2 separate regions of the Homo sapiens genome follow, and region 1 is linked to region 2. The links are contacts of gene promoters, found by promoter capture Hi-C in blood cells and fetal thymus (Javierre and others, 2016). All regions are on one chromosome and are shown on one strand. The core of a region is centred on a gene start or on the middle of the fragment in contact, and the rest is flanking DNA. Distances in the headings are between cores, read along the strand shown.

Region 1 (3,243 bases), core at 321-2,820, 330 kb before region 2:
TCCCACTAGCAAGCATAGAGCTTGGATGCCCCTAAAATATAATATGGCACTTCCACCAGTGTAAGAATGGGGAAGTTAGGGTACCCATTTATTTACTCCTTTTTTTTTGAGACAAGGTCACGCTCTGTCGCCAAGGCTGAAGTACAATGGCTTGATCTCACTTCACTGCAAACTCCACTCACGGGCTCAAGTAATTCTCCTGACTCAGCCTCCTGAGTAGCTGGGACTATAGGCACACACCACCATGCTCGGCTAACTTTTGTATATTTTGTTTTTGCCACGTAGCCCAGGCTGGTCTTGAACTCCTGATCCACCTGAATCAGTCTCCCAAAGTGCTAGGATTACAGGTGTAAGCCACCGCACCAGGCCTATTTAATCCTTTCTGTACACTAGACCCTGGTGATAGAAATGGCAGAAATACAGTCCCAGCACTCAAGAGGTAATAGGAACATGGACAAAAAGACATACCATACCAATTACAATACAGTGTGGGAAAGACAGTGGAGGGAAGCATGAGATGCCCTTCCTCTGTGTTGGTAATTGGGCCACAGTTGGGAAAGAGGTGAACAAATCTCTTCTGTGAATACCAACTCAGGGACATCCATGTTTCCACTGCAGAAGGACAAGCCAGCAGAAGGCTAGAAGCCATAAACCGAGTCCTGGCAGGATCAGTGCCACCCACTTTAACCCCAAAGCAGGGCTATTTTCTGCAACCGGAAAGAGTGGCATCTGACTCATGGACTGAATGCACCTTGCCCTCCATGGTAAACTCTGAACACAGAGCAGCCAAGGTTCCCCTCTGCCCTGCGTCTGCACCCATGCTGCAGCGTTCCAGAGCACTCCTCAACATCAATCAGTTCAGGTAAAAGCAGGAGGGAAGCACTCTACCTCTCCTGGATAACCTCCCCAGGTTTCCAAAGGGCATTAAATCTTTGCTAAATGAATGACTGCCACCAAGTTCCACTTTGAAAAGCCCTGCCCAGGAACCCCATTTGTATAAGGCAAAATACAAAGACACCAAGAATTCCTCAATACCCTAAGATTAATTGGGGATCGGTAAAGACTAGAAGATGAAGAGGCGCCAAGGCCAGCCATGTACTCATTTCTGCTCATCAAGCCTTAGCCTGGGTTTATCGCTAGGTGATGGGTCTGAACCCTAGGTGCGGCCCGGGGCTGGAGGCCATCCAGGAGACAATGAGCCCCTTTCCCAGAGAAGCCGAGTGCCCAAGGCACTGGGCTGTCGCCGTCAGAAGACTGCCGAGCGGAAGCCCTGCCCACCGAGGTGGCGGAGACAGGCAGGCCTGGGCAGCCGCTGGGGCGGAGGGACGGCTCTTGGAAACGGAATCCGTACTTTAATTAAAGTTTATGCAGTTTTCCAGGAGCGTCCTGTACCTCATTTCGGCCCTCACGTTTCAGGGAAGCCCTCTCCACAGTTACAGGCAGAAAGGGTGGGCCACTGAGCAGCGTGAGCCCAGATCTTACCCCCACCAAGTGAAGCGGGAAATAACTTGCTACTACCCAGCCTCCGGCCCGCCCCTTCCACTTCCGGTCTTACCCGGCTACTTCCGCTGCTGTTTCGTAGCCGACTGCTGAAGGCTGGTTTGCGTCGACATGGCGGTTACCCTGAGTCTCTTGCTGGGCGGGCGCGTTTGCGCCGCCGTCACTCGCTGTGGGTTCGCGACCCGGGGGGTGGCGGGCCCAGGCCCTATTGGCCGGGAGCCGGACCCCGATTCCGACTGGGAGCCGGAGGAACGGGAGCTGCAGGAGGTGGAGAGGTACCGGCTTCTCCCCGGGCCCTCAGCTTGAAGCAGGGCCTCGTGCCCCGGCGCTCCAGGCCGCGCCCCCTTGGCGCCGGGTGTCCTGCCGCTGCTTGCGCAGCGGCCCTTGTTTCTTCTTACCCGTTGTTAGGGGCGCAGCGTCAGGTGTTCAGCTCCCCTGGGACCACTGGTCCCTTCATTAGTGACGTATTTCATCATCAGTTTAGAGAGTTCGGCATGCTTACAGGCAGTTATTGTTCTAGGTGTTAGCTTTCTGGGTGTACGGAGCAGCTCTAAGCCGGCAACATGGCCCGGTTGCCCTTGCGATCAAAGAGAAGAGGGCTGGGCGCTCCATGATTTAGCCTGAGGCTCTTCAAACATCCATTCTGCTTCCACGCATGGCTTCTGCCATTGGTTCTCTTCCCCCAGCACCCTGAAACGACAGAAACAAGCAATCCGATTCCAGAAAATTCGGAGGCAAATGGAGGCGCCTGGTGCCCCGCCCAGGACCCTGACGTGGGAAGCCATGGAGCAGATACGGTGAGACTCAGGATACCTTGTTTGTATCCGCTGTGATGAGAAGTGAAGGATGCTGGAGCCCAGAAACGGGTTTGGCTTTTTTGATACTGCTTTTATATTTTCGTTTACTTTTTGTCGTTGAAATTTATTATCAGAAAAGTAGAGTAATATAACGAACTTCCCTAACCCTGTCATTATCTAGATTTAATAGTGTTTTGTTTTGTTTTTTAAAGAGACGGGGTTTCGCTATCGCCTCGAACTCCAGACCTCAAGTGATTCTCCCGCCTCGGCCTCTCAGAGTGCTGGGATTACAGGCATGAGCCACTGCGCCCCGCCTGGTTTTAATAGTTTTTAACGTTATGACGTGGTTGGTTCATTTTTACTGAAATTTTTAAATAGTAAATCGCAGACATCACAACATTTAACCCTTGAATGTAGGTTGTGACGTTCCCAACCTAAGGTACAGGGATGCTGGTGCTTCCATAGGTAGGTGCATTTTTCTGAAGACAGGATCTATAATTTAGGAAAGCTTAAAAGAGTTTTTAAGTTTTTTTGTTTTGAGTAGGTAAAGTATTACATATGGCTCAACCTAACAGTATAACATGGTATACACATTGAGAATTATTTGTCCCACCCACTCTCCTGTGGGTACTTTTTTTTTTTTTTTTTGGTAGTTGGGGGTCTCACTCTGTCGCCAAGGCTGGAGTACAATGATGTGATCACCGGTCACTGCAGCCTCTACCTCCTGGGCCCAAGCCATCCTCCCACTTCGTCCTCCCAAGTAGCTGGGACTACAGGTGCATGCCACCATGCTTGGTTAATTTTGTTTATTTTTTGTAGAGATAGCCTCATCATGTTGCCCATGCTAGTCTCCAATTCCCAGGGCTCAAGCGATCATCCCACCTCAGCCTCCTAAAGTGTTGGGATTACAGGCATGAGCCACTGTGTGCAGCTGTACTATTTTTAA
Region 2 (3,288 bases), core at 38-2,537:
AAAATTATTTGTTAAGTATGTGCTAGTGGTCAGACACCGTTTTAGACATTTTAATTCACTGTAACAGTAAACAGCATGGTCCCTGACCTCAAGTTGCCCAGGGTTCAGTGGGAGAGGCTACTCAGCAAACAAGCAGCCACGGCAGGTATGGCGTCTGCAGGGAGGCAGCTCAGGGGCTGTGGGAGCACGTCGGAGGTGCAGCTTGAACTAGTCTGGGGAAACGAAGAAGGCATCCTGGGGGAACATCTGAGGCTTGAAGGATAAGAAGTAAGAGGATAAAGTGTTCATTCAGCAGATCTTTACAGAGCCCCGTCTCTGTGCCAGGCACTGTTCTAAGCACTGGGGACCCAGTGATGAATAAGGGAGGCATACTTCCTGCTTTCTTGAGTTCACAGTCCTGTGGGAGATGACAGCAAACAGGCAATAAGAAAGGAAAATGGTTTTAGATGGTAATGAGTGAGATTTAAGAGAGTAAAGCAGTTGGGAGGTATGTTCCAGGCAGAGGGAAGAGAATGTGGTGCAAAGTCCTACCCAGAAGGGGAGATGACTTCTTGTGTTCAGGGGACCCTATCTCTTATGATAGGGTATAATCTGGCACTGTATGGATCAACTTGAGAGCATAAGCAAAGCTAGTCAACTCCTAAAGGAAGGAGAAACAAAAACCAAGTTAATATGCAGAGAAATTAAAGTTATTAGACAGTATGAGTCAGATTCACTGATCATGAGCCATGTCTCTGTGGTCTCCTAAGCTCCTAAATTGGGTTCCTGGGACTGGACATCGGTTGATGCAAAGAAAGTTCTTTAGCCCAGTCTCTTTTGAGGAATCAAGGGTCCGTGAAATGGGATGATTTTATTTTGGTGTTAATCTATTCCACTTGGAGGAGGAGGGCTGTGATTCCGTCTTTGCTTTCACGACCTGCATTCTGTTGGTTGTGAAATAATCTGCTTAAAATTGTGGCCTTGAACATTTGTCTATGACTTTTTAAATGAAGTTTCTTCATTTGAAAGTATAAAACACTAGTTTGAATCTTTGTTAGAACAAAAGGAAAAAATCAGAATTATTATAGCTGTTTCTTGGCTTGGGTGTTATTTAAGACACACTGGCTTAGACAAGGGTTTTAAGGGTTCACTCCTATGATAGGGTGATCTCAAATAAAACGAACATTGTTTAACAAATACTCTGGCCTCCTCTCAGAGTGGGCAGCCACAGCACGCAGAGCTCTGCCACAGGAGATTCCTTCTGGAGTGGGCTTTGCCCTTGGCATGGGTGGCCACACAAGACCAAGGCACAGCTGCAGCTGGGCCCTGGCCTAGCCCCACACAGGCGGAGGAGAGGCACTGCCAGGGCTTGCTCCTGGCTGGGGGCCTGGGCTCGGGCACTTGGAAGAGAAGCTCTTCTGCCCTTCTGCAGATGTGCAGTCTGTAGCAGCCCTTCTTACTCTCACTCATCAAGGTTGGCAGACGTGCCGTGTCCCAAACACCATTGCTAAACTTCTGAACTATTAACATAAATTTATAGCAAATAAAATATTTTCTCAGCCTTGTGGATGACACGCTCAGAAGGAAACACGAAATGCCTTCCTTGAAAGGAAGTCAAGAGTTCACCAGCGTGAAGGGTCGTGAAGAGATGCCTAAGACCTACTAGAGTTAGGAATGATTCTCCTCTCTGGGCTGGGCCTTGCTTTGATTCTTTTCATCATAATGAGATGAAAATGTTAGGACATTGGTTTATAGGACACTGTTTCTTTGAGATGCATGGCCTATTACATTTGAGAAACACCATACTCTGTATCACCTCTTGGAGCCTGACCGTATATATCAGGGCTCTGAAAAGTCCTGCAGTTAATAAACTTCTTATCTTTAACCCAGAATTTCAAAACTTAAGTGATCACAAAATCCAACTGTTACCTAACACCCGTCTTATCTTGAAGGACAAGGAAACATTGGTCTTTAGAATTTTAAGGGGGAAATATTCTGACTTCACAATACCACATGCAACCTGTTTGCCTCTCATTTGCTGAGGGAAACAGGATGTTCTTATAAATGCAAGGACTCAAAAAGATGCCACTCATATCCTCCCTTACAGTTTCACTTTAAGATGTCTTCTAGTGGGACATAGTTAGAGGTAAAGGGACAAAAAGAAGTAGAATGACAATAAACACATGGCTGAGCAATCAGGAAGGAGCCAAATTGTGGCCAGTTTTATATATTAAATCTGACCCTGAAACTTGTCTTGGTAGGTGGGTTCTGTTAACCAGACTCCGAGCCCACTTACCCCACCAGCTACATGGAAGGTCTCAGGCCTGCCCCACAAACTGTGTCCCTGGCAGAACACAGAGTTCCAGAGCAGGAGAGAAATGACTGGCTTCCAGGCTGCCCCGACAAGGCAGTTCCTGAGCCCTGCCCAGGTACACTGACCGCACAGGGACGGGAAGCCAAGAGAAGGGAACCCTGGGCCTGCTCACCCAGCCGCAGGTCAAGCAGCACAAAGAAAGGGCCAGGGCGGGTCTTGTTTTCAGCTTCTGTGGCTCAGTAACCCCACCCACTGGTAAACTGGCCAACTGATGTCCTCTCTTATCAGAAGAAGAAGAGCTGCTCCCCTTCCTTTGGTGAAGAGTAAGAACTGTTCCCTCTAACACTCCACAGGTTGAGAGGAACAGCAGTCCCTGTGTTGATGGATTGAGGCAGTAACTCGAGGAGGAAGATTTTCCTGCACAGAACTGCAGAGGCTTGGGGAGAGAGAGAACACACTGGGATGACTCTGAGATCCTAACATGAGTGTCTTGGTGGACGGTGGCCTCACTAAATGAGATGGACTATAAGAAGAGGAACAGATTAAGGGGACAGTGATTGGTTGGATTTTTGGTAGAATTTGAGCTGTCTTGGGTACTTTTGGCAGAGAACTTGAGTAGGCAGTTGGAAGTATGCACTTGGAGTTCACAAAAGAACTGTTGGGAGCTGGAGGTGTCGATTTATGAGTTACTGGACTGTGGGTGACAGTGGGGCCGAGGGAAGGATGCGATTGGCCAAGGCGAGCATGGAGGACAGGGGCTCTCTACCAGGAAGACGGGCACTGGCCCTGAGGCTCTTAGGAAGCGCCTCCTAAAGCTCCTGTGCCCGGAGGCTCCCGCCACCCCCTCCACCTGCTCACACTCTGCCTGGTGCCCAGGGATCCTGAGAGCATCCTTTGCCTCTCAGAGCAATGCAGGCAGGTGTGGCCTGAGGCTGCGAGGCCACAGGACCCCAGGGAACATCAGGACGGAAGGCAAAGGGGCGGAAAGGAGTGCA

What was found. Contacts are between HindIII fragments. The CHiCAGO score rates a contact against its expected background, and 5 or more counts as called.
Region 1: a contact is called between the fragment with the promoter of NGRN here and a fragment that was not itself captured in region 2, in 1 of 17 cell types (naive B cells). The highest score is 5.4, in naive B cells.

What each region holds. Positions count from the first base shown.
Region 1 is chr15:90,264,102-90,267,344 of GRCh38, forward strand. It overlaps NGRN (neugrin, neurite outgrowth associated), which reads left to right and starts at 1,571. Exons shown (of 3, transcript NM_001033088.3): 1 at 1,571-1,775; 2 at 2,187-2,297. The coding sequence starts at 1,612. It overlaps TTLL13 (tubulin tyrosine ligase like 13), which reads left to right. Exons shown (of 15, transcript NM_001396017.1): 15 at 619-1,376. The coding sequence ends at 866. It also overlaps a transcript of CIB1 not described here. RefSeq lists enhancers at 583-1,554, 1,042-1,171, 1,532-1,761, 1,555-2,525. The HindIII fragment of the contact is 8,147 bases long and covers 1-2,803 here.
Region 2 is chr15:90,595,804-90,599,091 of GRCh38, forward strand. All of the region lies in intron 3 of CRTC3 (CREB regulated transcription coactivator 3), which reads left to right. LOC124903555 (a long non-coding RNA gene) reads right to left here and starts at 175. Exons shown (of 2, transcript XR_007064758.1): 1 at 88-175. LOC124903554 (a long non-coding RNA gene) reads left to right here and starts at 3,224. Exons shown (of 2, transcript XR_007064756.1): 1 at 3,224-3,288. RefSeq lists enhancers at 157-226, 2,394-2,688. The HindIII fragment of the contact is 4,338 bases long and covers 1-3,288 here.